Regions from separate parts of the Homo sapiens genome. Here all the other regions are linked to region 3. The links are contacts of gene promoters, found by promoter capture Hi-C in blood cells and fetal thymus (Javierre and others, 2016). All regions are on one chromosome and are shown on one strand. Each heading gives the region's core, a stretch centred on a gene start or on the middle of the fragment in contact. The rest is flanking DNA. Distances are from core to core; before and after follow the strand shown.

The links. The method cuts DNA at HindIII sites, captures the fragments that hold promoters and counts their contacts. A CHiCAGO score of 5 or more calls a contact.
Region 1: a fragment that was not itself captured here is called in contact with the fragment with the promoter of ATP8B3 in region 3 in 1 of 17 cell types (megakaryocytes); the score reaches 5.2 in megakaryocytes.
Region 2: the fragment with the promoter of NDUFS7 here is called in contact with the fragment with the promoter of ATP8B3 in region 3 in 2 of 17 cell types (M0 macrophages and total CD4 T cells); the score reaches 5.7 in M0 macrophages.
Region 4: a contact is called between the fragment with the promoter of APC2 here and the fragment with the promoter of ATP8B3 in region 3, in 1 of 17 cell types (naive B cells). The highest score is 6.0, in naive B cells.
Region 5: the fragment with the promoter of C19orf25 here is called in contact with the fragment with the promoter of ATP8B3 in region 3 in 1 of 17 cell types (naive B cells); the score reaches 6.1 in naive B cells.

Annotation. Positions count from the first base shown.
Region 1 is chr19:1,519,987-1,522,686 of GRCh38, reverse strand. LOC107985337 (a long non-coding RNA gene) reads right to left here. Exons shown (of 3, transcript XR_001753835.2): 3 at 210-840. Among named protein-coding and RNA genes, the nearest start is that of PLK5, 2.7 kb to the left of the region's middle. The HindIII fragment of the contact is 1,605 bases long and covers 549-2,153 here.
Region 2 is chr19:1,382,519-1,385,218 of GRCh38, reverse strand. It overlaps NDUFS7 (NADH:ubiquinone oxidoreductase core subunit S7), which reads right to left and starts at 1,312. Exons shown (of 8, transcript NM_024407.5): 1 at 1,277-1,312. The coding sequence starts at 1,292. TRF-GAA1-6 (tRNA-Phe (anticodon GAA) 1-6) reads left to right here and starts at 1,785; the gene lies at 1,785-1,857. It overlaps TRN-GTT2-6 (tRNA-Asn (anticodon GTT) 2-6), which reads right to left and starts at 1,656; the gene lies at 1,583-1,656. RefSeq lists silencers at 1,183-1,242, 1,493-1,632, 1,813-1,942. The HindIII fragment of the contact is 18,765 bases long and covers 1-2,700 here.
Region 3 is chr19:1,811,009-1,813,708 of GRCh38, reverse strand. It overlaps ATP8B3 (ATPase phospholipid transporting 8B3), which reads left to right and starts at 1,433. Exons shown (of 29, transcript NM_138813.4): 1 at 1,433-1,523; 2 at 1,825-2,220. The coding sequence starts at 1,973. RefSeq lists enhancers at 640-799, 1,180-1,925 and a silencer at 1,350-1,719. The HindIII fragment of the contact is 25,835 bases long and covers 1-2,700 here.
Region 4 is chr19:1,448,671-1,451,370 of GRCh38, reverse strand. It overlaps APC2 (APC regulator of Wnt signaling pathway 2), which reads right to left and starts at 1,250. Exons shown (of 15, transcript NM_005883.3): 1 at 1,033-1,250. RefSeq lists a silencer at 1,204-1,403. The HindIII fragment of the contact is 28,474 bases long and covers 1-2,700 here.
Region 5 is chr19:1,477,772-1,480,471 of GRCh38, reverse strand. It overlaps C19orf25 (chromosome 19 open reading frame 25), which reads left to right and starts at 1,257. Exons shown (of 3, transcript NM_152482.3): 1 at 1,257-1,309; 2 at 1,567-1,698. The coding sequence starts at 1,569. RefSeq lists enhancers at 1,091-1,210, 1,572-2,072 and a silencer at 1,431-1,480. The HindIII fragment of the contact is 20,570 bases long and covers 1-2,700 here.

The sequences.
Region 1 (2,700 bases), core at 102-2,601, 290 kb after region 3:
ACCCTGGAATCCTCCAGGGGCAGAAAGCCAGTTCCTTGCTTTTTTTTTTGTTTGTTTGTTTTTTTGAAAGAGAGTCTTGCTCTGTCACCCGGGCTGGAGTGCCGTGGTGTGATCTTGGCTCACTGCAACCTCCATCTCCCGAGTTCAAGCAATTCTCCTGCCTCAGCCTCCCAAGTAGCTGGGACTACAGGTATGCACCACCACACCCAGCTGATGTATTTATTTATTTGTATTTTTAGTAGAGACGGGTTTCACCATGTTGGTCAGGCTGGTCTCAAACTCCTGACCTCAAATGACCCGCCTGCCTCGGCCTCCCAAAATGCTGGGATGACAGGCGTGAGCCACCAGGCCTGGCTTCCGGTTCCTTCCTGATAGCACCAGTCCATCCTGGCATCAGTTCAGGCATTTGTTAAGCACTTACTGCATATGGGCCTGTGTCAGGCTGTGCGAGCCCAAGGCAGACCCAGCCCTGTCCTCGTAAAAGGACCACTGCTTAACGGACTGCAAGAACGTCCAAGACTTCACCAAGTCAGGGGTCAAGGAAAGCTTTGGAGGTGGAAGGAAGTGAGCCAGGCCCGTTCTGGGCAGTAACTTGTCCCTGAGGCAGGTGCTGTTCTTAGCCCTGTGTTACAGATGAGGAAACTGAGGCTCCGAACGTCCGGTGCCAGCCCAGGATCACCGCGGACTGCATGTGGCTGAGCCTGGAGTCTAGGTGGGAGTGAATCCAGAGCTCCTGGTCCCCCCACAATAGGTCTGTCCCTCTTTCAGGCTGCCAGCCCCAGCAGTCCCAGGGAGCAGTGCCAGGCAAGGCCCTCGTGCTGAGGCGGGTGTCTGAGCTTCCTAGGGGGAAAGAAATCAGAGTTCCTGGCCCAGAGCCTCGCAGCCCGCCTGTCAGCTGATGCTCCTTGCACAGAGACCGGCTCGCCCTCCCTCTCCCCTGGCCGCCCGCGGCTTTTCCTGGCTGAGACTCCACTATGGAGCTGGGAAAGGCCTCCTAGTCCCAGCCTGTGCCCCTCTGAGCAGGGACTCTGTCCCCCAGCCTATGTGAGCCCTCCTAACCAGCTGTCCCCATCCCCCGCCCTGCCCCAGGCTGGCTGCTCACCACAGCCTTGCCCCAGGGGAGTTTTGGGGGGCTAAGGATGAATGCCCCCAAAGACACCCCTCAGCTCTCCCTGAAGGCCTCTTACACAGATTAGGGGATGGGGAGGGACTGCTGTTGGGTACAAGTCTCCTTTTGAGGATGAACTGTTTTAGAATTAGATAGAGGGGGTGCTTGTTCAACACTGTGAGGGCAGTAAATGCTGCTGAATTGTGCATTTTAAAAAGGGTAAATTTTATGTTATGTGAATTTCACCTCAAAGGTTAAAAAAAAAAAAAAAAAAAAAGAATTGGCCGAGCCCTGTGGCTCACACCTGTAGTCCTAGCACTTTGGGAGGTCAAGGCAAGAGGATCACTTGAGGTCAGAAGTTCGAGACCAGCCTGGCCAACATGGCGAAGCCCTGTCTCTACTAAAAATACAAAAATTAATCGGGCGTGGTGGCTCACACCTGTAATCTCAGCACTTTGGGAGGCCGAGGCGGGCAGATCATGAGGTCAAGAGATCGAGAGCATCCTGGCTAACATGGTGAAACCCCGTCTCTACTAAAAATACAAAAAATTAGCCGGGTGTGGTGGCGGGTGCCTGTAGTCCCAGCTACTCGGGAGGCTGAGGCAGGAGAATGGTGTGAACCTGGGAGGCGGAGCTTGCAGTGAGCCGAGATCGCGCCACTGCACTCCAGCCTGGGCGACAGAGCGAGACTCTGTCAAAAAAAAAAAAAAGGGAAAAATATATTAGATTCCCTACCCCCTAAAACACATAGTCCTACTAATGCCCCAGTTTACAGATGGGGAAACTGAGGCACGGCTTGTGTGATGAGCACAGGATGCCGTTTTGCAAAGGGGCAGGGCAGGGTTCAATGGGGCCACCTGGCCCTCCCATCCTACCCCCTGCCCTGGGTTCTTGAGGCCTGGGTGGTCTAGCACTGCAGCCCCTGTACCCCCAGCACCTCTCACATCCCAGACCACAGGCTCGATTTCCTCTCCAGTCTCTGTTCTTTTGCTGACCTGAGAAAACCACAGACTCAGCGGATTTTGCGGAGAAGTGCCGGGAAGCTTTGCTCAAAATACCTACTGCAGGTGGAGGCGTGGCAGCTGAGACAGCAGGCACCCGACTCCCTGGAGGCCCAGGAGGCTCATGGGGCTGCCTCCGAGGTCAGCGGCGGCCCAGGCCTCCCCAGCACCCTCCTTCCGGCAGGCGCCAGGGTGGAGGCCACCAACCAATGTGACTCAGCCCAGCTCCCTGGTCCCTGCCTGGTCTCCTGGCCTTTACCAAGCACCCGTGGGTCTCACGTGCCTGGACGCCTGACCACGCAGGTGCCCAGGGACCCATGGCCCTGGGAGCAGAGCAGGCAGGAGACGTACCACCACCACAGGGCTCCAGAGACCCCCACTGATTGTGGTTTATGCTGCACGACATGGCCCAGTGTGAGCGCAGGAGGGGGCGTCCAGACTTGGTGCCCCGAAACCAAGCCCTGTTCTTCCCTCTCTCAACTCTGTTTCCTCCTAAAAGCACTGTTGTCCAGATGCAGGGCTCATGCCTGTAATCCCAGCTACTCTACTCGAAAGGCTGAGGCAGGAGGATCCCTTGAGTCCAGGAGTTTG
Region 2 (2,700 bases), core at 63-2,562, 430 kb after region 3:
AAGGGGCCTGGTGAGGATTCAGAACTGTGAATTTGCTTGGAATAAAAAAATATATATGTCTTTGTTGTCACCAGCATCTTATGGAAAATTAGCCCTTCATTCAATTCTTAGCGTAGGCTGGGTGCCGTGGCTCCCAGCACTTTGGGAGGCTCAGGTGGGAGGATTGCTTGAACTCAGAAGTTCGAGACCAGCCTGGGCAACAGGGCAAGACCCCCATCTCTACTAAAAATACAAAAACTAGCCAGGCATGGTGGCGCACACCTGTGGTCCCAGCTACACAGGACACTGAAGTGCCAGAATCGCTTGAGCCTGGGAGGCACAGGTTGCAGTGATGAGCCAAGATGGCACCACTGCACTCCAGTCTGAGCGACAGAGGCAGACCCTGTCTTAATAAATAAATAAAAAATTCTTAGCATAGACAACAAAATACGGCAGTATTAGCAGGACCTGTAACTTTTCACCAAGCGGAATCACAGATGTTTCCTAGCTATGGTGCAGGGGCTGCAGACGTTTCCGTATCATCAAAGCCTCATTTCCACTCCTCACTCCTTCCAAATCACAGTCGCAATTAGACCTGCCGCTAGATCGCGTTCATAAGGGAAGCACTTAGATTACTAAGTCGCCAATCAGGTTTCAAGACAATCTTTTAATAACTGCCTCTCCGTGTAACTGATTTCCTTGCAATTCTATGGATTTTATTCCATGCATTTAATAACTTTATCTGAGCAGAGGTCCGCAGGCTTCAGCTGATCCCAAAAAAGTCCCTGGAGCAGGACAGGCTCTGCGAGAGGCCCTTACCTCCCAGGGGTGGGGAGGGAGGTGGAGGGTCCAGCAGGGTGGCGTGGATGTCCTGGGTCCTGTTCCTTCCCAGGCCCGGCCCTGTGACCTCGAAGACCCTCAATGGGCCTCAGTTTCCCAGCCTGTCAGGCAGGCCCCGCTCTCTCCAGGGCATCTCAAGAGCAGCCTCGCGGGCCGTGCCCTGGTCTCGGGGACGTGAATGGGGCCCCTCCAGCCTCCACCCCGAGCGCCTTCCTGAGGCTGGAGGCTTGCGTCATGACCTACCGGGCCTCGGTTTCCCCGACTGTACTCTGGACGCAATAACGGCGACCGTTCATCGCAAGCCGGGCGGGGAGCCCGAGGAGCGGCCGGCTCGGAGAAGCCCGGAGAGGACCGCGGCCACGACGCCGGCACCGACCCCCGACGCCACCACGACACCCGAGGCTCCCACGGCCCCAGACCCGCGCGGCCCCACACCCGCCGCCGGTGCCGCGCTCACCTGACAGCACCGCCATCTTGGCCTCGGCCTTCAGACAACCTCTGAGGTCCGTTCTCCTTAGCGCTCCGGGTTCCCGGGGCCGCCGCCCAAAGCGGCTCGGAGCGCATGCGGAAACCGGAACCTGGAGCCGGGAGGTTCCGCTGCGCTTTCGGCCTCCGTGGTCGTGTTGCGCCGTGCACCCCCAGATCACCCGAGGCGGAAAGGTCATCGGAGTGCGCACGTGGGGGCCGCGGGTCTGCGGCGGACCGACAAAAACAGAGGCGACACTCATTTTCTTGTTATTCCAGGAGGGCAAAAGTCACCACGCGTCCCTGGGTGGGCTCGAACCACCAACCTTTCGGTTAACAGCCGAACGCGCTAACCGATTGCGCCACAGAGACGACACTGCGCTCCGGCGCCCTGGGAGACCTTACAAAGGATGTGGGGCCTGCTGACGCGAAACGACTGCGCCTGCGCAGGGAAGGCGCAGCGCGGGACGGAGTCCCGGCGAGAGCGACTCTGCCGCCCAGCCGAAATAGCTCAGTTGGGAGAGCGTTAGACTGAAGATCTAAAGGTCCCTGGTTCGATCCCGGGTTTCGGCAGAAGTTTTAGCGCCTCTTGCGATCACTGATGTCTTTCGTTCAGGATTGGTCCAGCTGCCTCGCAGCTATCCCGGACCCCTTACCGCAACATCACCGCATTCTGCAGAGGAGTCGCCGCGATGTGGACTCATCCCAAAGTAAGGGGGCTCAGACCTCACAACCCCAAAGCCTCCTCTTCCCACCCCTAAGAGGTCATAATTTCAGCTCAAACTTCCCCCTTCCCTGACACACCCTCGATTTTCCATCTTGCTTAAATTGATAAGTTTACAACCAGTACTAATGATATAAAAACTAACACTAAACACCCAAACTAGCAAAACAGAGTTTGCAGAACGCTTTCTGCATGCATATCATTTAATTTTCACAATTCCACTGGAGGTTTTGTCTGCCTGTTTTATGATTACAAAAACAGAGGCAAAGGCCGGTGCGGTGGTTCACGCCTGTAATCCCAGCACTTTGGGAGGCTGAGGCAGGCAAATCACCTGAGGTCAGGAGTTCAAAACCAACCTGGCCAATATGGTGAAACCCTGTATCTAAATCCCAGCTACTCGGGAGGCTGAGGCAAGAGAATCACTTGAATCCGGGAAGCGGAGGTTGCAATGAGCTGAGATCGTGCCACCGCACTCCAGCCTGGGCGACAGAGTGAGACTCCATCTCAAAAAAAAAAAAAAAAGAAAAAAGAAAAAGAAAAAGTAAAGAAAACAGAGGCTCAAATTAGGTGAACACAGGTGACTAGCAAGACTGGGGGCCCCTTGAGGACCACAACAAGTGTTTACTGAATTCGTGCCATGGGCTGGGGACCCACTGCTGAGCAAAGCCAGGCCTGGTCTCTGTTCTTGGGCA
Region 3 (2,700 bases), core at 184-2,683:
CCTGCCTGCTTGTGGTCCCAGCTACTCTGGAGGCTGAGGCAGGAGGATCGCTTGAGCCCAGGAGGTGGAGGCTGCAGTGAGCTCTGATCGCACCACTGCACTCCAGCCCGGGTGACACAGTGAGACTCTGTCTCCAAAAAAAGAGAGGTTCCCTGGCAGCCTCCAGGGCCAAGCAGGCTTCCAATTTGGGCTTCCAAAGAAAGAGGGTTTGTGATCACCGAGAGCCCTCAGGTGGTTGCCGCTTTGATGGGGGAGGTGGCTTCCCTATCCCCCTCCACCCATGTTTGCCTCTCCCTTTGGGCCCTCACCCCAGGTAGCCTCACTCTTGGGGGCATTTCATCTTCAGCAGCCCCTCCGCACACACTTTCTGACCCTGGCTCCAGGCCCTATCGCTGGCCTGGACCCGCCCTAGCCTCGTCGCTGAACTCACCCCTGCCACTTCTTCAGTAAGGATCCCTGAGCCCCTGCCACCTGCTGGAAAGAACCCTGCGGGCTTCCTCTTGGCCTTAGGGTGGTCTCAATGGCTATAACCGCCTCTCCCCAGCCTGGTGCTCAGCCCTGCATCTGCGCCTAGGAGGCGCTCGTTGAACGTGTATGGGATGAATGAACGAACCCAGGACACGGATCAGACATGACTTACATAACCGCCGTTACCTGTGGTCCTTCCTCCTGCACTCTGCCACGCTGGCCGCACCAGCCTCAGCCCCGTCAGGTCTGCAAGGCCCATTCCGACCTGACCCAGGCCCACCTTTCCAAGAACCCTTCCAACCCCGCCCTGCGGTGCAGGTTCTTTCTGCTCCCTGACCAAGCCCGGCCCGGCCCTGCCCTGACACCCTCTTCCCTTTCAGGCTCCGCCCCTGCACTGGCACTGCTCCCTAAGGCCCTCCCAAGGCCCTGCCTTCTGTCCTGGACCCACCCTGAGCGCCCTCCTACCCTGACCCTGCTCTGCGCGGCCCCGCCTTCCTCCTTTGTAACGGCTCCGGATCCCAGCCCCGCCCCTACCATAACACTGCTCCGCAAGGCCATGCTCAACCCCGCTTCCCGCTCTGGCCAAGCCCCTGAGTCCTGGCCCCGCCCCTACTCTGACTTTGCTCAGCGAGACCCCGCTCGTCCTCGCCTTCCTTCTAGTCCCTTCCCCAAAGTCCCGGCCCCTCCCCAGACCCAGGCACTGCTCCCGAGCGTCTTCTATCCCGGCCTGTTCTGCGAGGCTCTGCGAGGCCCCGCCCTTCGGCCGTGACCGCGTCCCTGAGGCCTGGCCCCCATCCTGCTCGGCCGTGCTCCGCTCGGCCCCACCCTCGAGGCCCCGCCCCTTCTTCGCCTTGGCCCCACCCACCCCCTCCAGGCCCCGCCCCCGGCCCCCTTCCGGGGTCCGAACTGGCTCCACCTTCGCCTTGGCCGGGCCCCGAGGCCCCGCCCCGAGATCCCGCCCCCCGTTTCAGGACCGTTGGCACCGGGCTAACGGTTCCACCACGTCCGCCGCCCTGGACGCCCGCGGCCTGCCCCCCCCTGCCTCTCCTGCGCCGGTGAGCGGCGGGTGCTCCCACTGCTGTGCGTCCCCGGGAGCCCGCGCACCCTCTCTGGGCTCCACCCAGGCTGAGAGCTGGGGTCGTGGCGGCGGGGGTGGAGAGCGCGCCCCTAGAGGTTCGCGCGGTCGGGGCCCCGGGGCGGGTGCAGACAGCCCTGGACTCTGGAGCCCTGTCCAGGGCGGTCCTGTGCCCCTGCGGCTGCGGGAAGACGGGGTGGGGGGCTTCCGAGTAATGGGGCATCCCAGTTAGTGAGGGGGCAGGAAGCCAGCGCTGTGTCCGTGTCTCTTTCTGCCCCCAGATACACTTCGAGTGGATTCTGGCCATTTGAGCATTCTCTCCAACTCTCCAATCCCCAGTCTGCCCCCACGGGGGTCTCCCCCACCTCTCCCCCGTCCCACAGCCTAAACCCCTCTTCGCCCTGAACCTCCCTTTTCCTCATGCGGTGAATGGGCACTGGCCCCGCTCAGACTCCCAGGAGCACCAGAGCTGGCCCTGAGCCAAGCCCTGCCCCACCAGGACCTGGGGACACGGGTGACTCAGACGTGACTCAGGAAGGCTCAGGTCCTGCTGGCATCCGCGGAGGTGAGACGGTGATCAGAGCTGGGATGGGAGACTCCCCAGGCAGAGGGGCACCTGAGAGGAGGCACAAGGCCCAGCCTGGCCGGGCTAGGAAGTATGAATGGAGACCAGAAGGGTGAGGACGGGTGCATCGGGTGGCCGGAACACAGGGGCAGGGGCTTGGCGGGGAGGGCACTGCTAGAGAGCTGGCAGGTGGGGGGCCAGTTGCTGGCGTCTAGGGGTGGTTTGCCCATCCTCATAGGGGGCCAAACCAGGGCCCCCGGTGCAGGGCTAGAGCCAGACCCACATTCCTGAACCTGCTAGTGGAGAAGATTCCAGGATCTTCTGACGATGTCCGTCTGCCTCCATCGCCCCCATCAGAGTTTGCTGCCCAGCCTGGGGGGGTGAGGAGGGGAGTGGCCATGCCTGACCCTCATGCTGTGTTTTGAGATATAACATATAGCCCGGGGGTCCCATTCAGTCAGTGAACAGATGACTGAGCCCCTAAGCTGGTGCCACATGGGGAGAGGGGCAGGAGGCCGTCAGTGAAACCAGGAGGAGGTGAGAGTGGTCCTTTCAGGAAAAGCGAGGTGTGGGGAGCAGTGGCCGGAGGCTG
Region 4 (2,700 bases), core at 1-2,500, 360 kb after region 3:
GGTCACCATCCCATGCCCAGCCAGGTGGAAGGACCAGATGACGTGCAAAGCAACACATGTCTGCCTCCTGCTCCCCAAACCCAGGCCTCCCCCACGTGGTTCTTCTCAGCTGACCGAAGCCAAGCCTCAGACACCTTCCCTCTCCCCACATTCGGTGGTCATTTCTGCATCCTCATCAGACTAAGCTAGTCCCTCCAAGCTCTGCCCAGCGGGATCATGCCTCCCCCAGCTCCTGACACCCCTCTGTGAGGACATTCTGATCAGCCTCTTCCTGGCCTCCCACAGTCCCCCATGCACAGCCAGAGGGAGCTTTAAACGTCACAAGTGAGATCCCATTTCTCCCATGCTCAAACACCTTCCATGGCTCCCCAGTGCCCTCAGGATACGCTCCGACTCCTCCATGTACACCGCGACTCACTTAGAGGCTGGAGGCTCTCTTCTCTCAGGCCTTTGCACGTGCAGTTGCCCTGCCTAGAGCACCTTTTCTAAGTCCTGCCATCCCACACAGTGCAGCTTCTTCCACGAAGCTCTTCTGCCTACTTTCACCCCCAGGTTGCATCGTGTAGCCTCCTGGGGGCCTTCCTGAGCGATCACTCCCTGAAGGCACCATGACTGGGGGCTGGTCTTATTGAGCGGGCTGCATTTCAGGGGAGGGAGGCACAGGTATGGGAAGCCAGGCCCAAAGGGGCCTTTCTCCTTCCTTTAATCCAAACCCCCTCTTTCCAGAGAGGGAAACTGACACCCAGAGAGGTGCAGCAACACCCCCGAAGACACACCACTGGCCTGCCCATCCCTTCCTCCGATCACCTCAGGGAGGTCCGGATGGTGAAGCCCGTGAGTGGGTGTGTGCGCAGGACCGGCTGCAGAAACGCTGACGCCCAGCTCACCGGGACTCAGTTTCCCCTCCAGCTCCCACTCTGGGGAAATGGAGGGTCCAGAGTCTGTGCTGACGGGCAATGCTGAGAGCCAGGGATGGAAACCTCGACGCGAGGCGGAGGTCGCGCCCCTGCCCTCCTCCCCGAGGACACACACCCGCTTACGTGCAGCTGGGCTGGCGGGGCGCCTGGGTCTGGGGCCTCCTCCCTCTGCGCGGCTCCGCGGGCCCCACCGGAAATCCCGGCCCGGGGTGGCCTCGGAGCGCGCGGGCTCCGGGGTCTCCGCGGCGCGGGCAGGGGCTCCGGGGCGGACAAAGCCCGGTCCGGGCCTGGGCAGGCGGCGCTGCCGCTCCTAGCGCTGGGCGAGACCACCGCGAGCGGGGGAGGATGCGGGATGAGGGATGCGGGTGAGACAGCCAATGAGGGCGCGGGAAGACGGGCTGGTGCCATGGCAACAGCCAATGGCGGCCCGGGGCGGGGACCGGCGTCGGCCGCGGGGCGTCGGGCCTCCGCGCGGGCTCAGGGGCCGTGAGTGCGGGGGGCGAAACCCCCCCGAGGGAAGGGGGTGCCCCGAGGACCAAGATTCCTGTGTCCCGCACTTTATTGCAGGGTGCAACGGCCTCTTAAAACCTCCTGCGTCTGGATTTGCAGAATTGGAGAGTAAAACATCAAATCCTGGATGTTACATCAGCATCTTGGCGGGGGAGGGGTTTCCAGGGCAGTGGCCGGGCTGGGGCCAGGCCTGCACCCACCCCACAGGTCCAGCCTGGCCTGGTGCAGGTGCGTCAGGGTGGGACAGGGTTCGGGTCCAGGCTGGAGCTCCCTGAGGGTCCTGCCTGGTGGGGAGGGGAGAGGGGAGGAGGGGCAGGGCCACTGGGGAGCACCTGGGACGCTGCATCTCCCCACATTTCTCCCTGTCTCCCCAACGGAGCGTCAGATCCTCCTGTAACTCCGTTGCTCTTCATGTCCCTCTCTCTTTCTGTCTCCCCCTCTGTTCTCTGTCTCTCAATCTCTGTCTCCATGTGTCTCTGCCCCTGGTGGGTGGCACACTTAATTCACCCTCACGGACCGAAGGCCAGAGGAGGGAAGGGCCAGGGGTCCCAGGAGTCGCCATCTCCAGGTGTCCTGGATGCTCCATGAGTCCCTGGAAGCCATTTGAAGGTTTAACACACAGAGCCCGTCCCTGCAGCTCGGAGCAGCCCTTCCTGCTCTGGACACAGACTCACAGCACAGAAAGGGAGGCGACTGGGGCCAGAAGAGTGATTTTTTTCCGTGCTGGGCAGGCAGGGCAAATCATTCGCCGCTCAACCCTCGGTTTCCTCCTCTGTAAAATGGAGAGGAGGCGGAAGATTCTGCAAGGGCTGGTGCAGGGAATGATAGGAGAGGGTGGGAAGGTCCGAGTATTCAAGGCCCCGTAGACAAAGGCAAGGGAGGACCCGTGCTGTTTCCTGTTGGGCCTTGAGCTGAAGACCCGAGGGCCTTGTCCCGGGCCAGCACTGCCAGGGGCTGAGAGCCCTTCGGCCTGGCTGTCTGGGAGCCCCCAGAGCTGGACGCAGCTGTCCCCACTGGTTGGGTCTGGGGAGGCAATGCAGTGGGCAGACACAGGGGATCTTTTCTTTTTTCTTTTTCTTTTTTTTCTTTTTTTTTTTTTTGAGACGGAGTCTTGCTCTGTAGCCCAGGCTGGAGTGCAGTGGCACGTTCTCGGCTCACTGCAAGCTCCGCCTCCCAGGTTCACGCCATTCTCCTGCCTCAGCCTCCCGAGTAGCTGGGACTACAGGCGCCCGCCACCACGCCCAGGCTAATTTTTTGTATTTTTTAGTAGAGA
Region 5 (2,700 bases), core at 8-2,507, 330 kb after region 3:
GCAGTGGCACGATCTCGGCTCACTGCAAGCTCTGCCTCTCGGGTTCATGCCATTCTCCTGCCCCAGCCTCCTGAGTAGCTGGGACTACAGGCAACCGCCACCATGCCTGGTTAATTTTGTTTTTCTTTTTGTATTTTTAGTAGAGACAGGGTTTCACCATGTTAGCCAGGATGGTCTTGATCTCCTGACCTCGTGATCCACCCACCTCGGCCTCCCAAAGCGCTGGGATTACAGGCGTGAGCCAACACACCCAGCCTAATTTTTGTATTTTTAGTAGAGACGGGGTCTCACCATGTTGGCCAGGCTGGTCTCAAACTGGCCTCAAGTGATCTGCCCGCCTCGGCCTCCCAAAGTGCTGGGATTACAGGCATGAGCCACCGCGCCCAGGCTGAATTTACAGTTTAAACAGGCGAATTTGGCCGGGCGCGGTGGCTCACGCCCGTAATCCCAGCACTTTGGGAGGCTGAGGCGGGCGGATTGCCTGAGCTCAGGAGTTTGACACCAGCCTGGGCAACACAGTGAAGCCCCATCTCTACTAAAATACAAAAAAAAATTTTGACGGACGTGGTGGCGGGCGCCTGTAGTCCCAGCTACTCGGGAGGCTGAGGCAGGAGAATTGCTTGAACTCGGGAGGCGGAGGTTGCAGTGAGCTGAGATCACGCCACTGCACTCCGGCCTGGGCGACACAGTGAGACTCTGTCTCTAAAAAAACAAAACAAAACGAAATAAACAGGAGAACTTTATGGTATGTAAACTGCATCTCAATAAAGCCCCTGAGAGAGGAAAAGGGCCCTCTGCTCTTTCTGCCTTCCCAGGCATCAGCGGAGAGGAAAAGGTGACCTCCAGCACCGTCCCCGAGGTGGGAGGACCCGCCTTGGCCGGAAGTGGAGGCGCCGCGACCGCCCCGCCCCCGCTGTGTTCCGGCCGCCGAGTGCTCATGCACCACCAGGCTCCCTTAGGTGGACAGCAATTTTGTGCTCCCGTCAGCCACATGGGTGGCGTGTCCCCTAGTGCCGTGTTCCCCTTTTCAGAAAGACGAGCCTCGGATGCTTTTCTACCCAGCCAGTGGAGCCTGGACTCGAACTCGCTCTCATCGTAGCGCGTCCAGGTTCGGGTTCGCCTGAGAGGCTGAGATCCGAGTCTCAAGGGCACTATCCCTTTAAGACGGGGCGGAGCCCCGCGATGAGCGGCGGGCCGGCGGGAGAGGAGGCCGGAAGTGTGTGTCACGTGTTCGGGGACGGGGCGGTGCTCCGACCGGAATCGGAAGTGGCTGCGTCGTCGACGCTGGGCTTTCGGGTCCCGCGCCCAGGTGGGAAGAGGCCGGCGACTGGGGTGACCGCGGGGAAACTGAGGCAGAGGTTGAGCCAGACCCTGAAGCCTTGGCCACCGTGTTTTTGGGCGGAGGGAGGGTCAGGGCCTGGGGCGAGCTCAGAGGGGCGGGACAGGGCGGGCTTCCCCGGGAGCGGGACCGCGACGGGTGCGTACGAGTTCGCTGGGCGGGAGGAGCAGCCCGGGCAAGGGCGGAGAGGTGGACGCCCCGGTCAGCGCCCCCTTCCCCGCCTTCAGAGATGGGCTCCAAGGCAAAGAAGCGCGTGCTGCTGCCCACCCGCCCAGCGCCCCCCACGGTGGAGCAGATCCTGGAGGATGTGCGGGGTGCGCCGGCAGAGGATCCAGTGTTCACCATCCTGGCCCCGGAAGGTAGGGGGAGCCCGGTCCCGGGGAAAAGCGGACCTGAGACCCCGGCAGCAAGGGGACGGGAGAGAAGCACACCCCTAACTCCTGACCCCACGCCCTGGGAACCCCCGCAACATGGGCACGGTCCGTATCCTCTCCGAGTCTCCCTCTACTCCTCCGTAGAGTGGGACCGATTTTCAGAGGGTTCTTCTGACAGGGGTGGAGGCCGGGCGCTGTGGTTCAGGCCTGTAAGCCCAGCACTTTCGGAGGATGAGGCGGGAGGATCGCTTGAGCCCAGGAGTTCGAGACCAGCCTGGCCAACATGGTGAAACCCCGTCTCTGCTAAAAATGAAAAAACAAAACAAAAACAAAAACAAAAACAAAACAGAGTTAGCTGGGCATAGTGGCAGGCGCCTGTAATCTCAGCTACTCGGGAGGCTGAGGCAGGAGAATCGCTTGAACCCGGGATGCAGAGTTTGCAGTGAGCCGAGATCGCACCACTGCACTCCAGCCCAGGTGACAGTGCGAGACTGTCTCAAAAAAAAAAAAAAATTACTGGGTGTGGTGGTGGACACTTGTAGCCCCAGCTTCTTGGAGGCTAAAGTGGGAGGATACAGCCTAGGCAACACAGCCAGACTGTGTCTCAAAAATAAATAAGTGGCCGGTGCGGTGGCTCACGCCTATAATCCCAGCACTTTGGGAGGCCGAGGTGGGTGGATCACTTGAGGTCAGAGGTTGGACACCAGCCTGGCCAACATGGTGGAACCTTGTCTCTACTAAAAATACAAAAATTAGCCGGGTGTGGTGGCATGGGCCTGTAATCCCAGCCACTCAGGAGACTGAGGCAGGAGAATCACTTGAACCTGGGAGTCGGAGGTTGCAGTGAGCTGAGATCACGCAACTGCACTCCAGCCTGGACCACAGTGAGACTCTGTTTCAATAATTATAATAATAATTAATAAATAGAAATAAATAAAGTAAAACAGAGGTGGTAAGCTAGGGCCCCCCAAACCCTGCCCCTGGCTG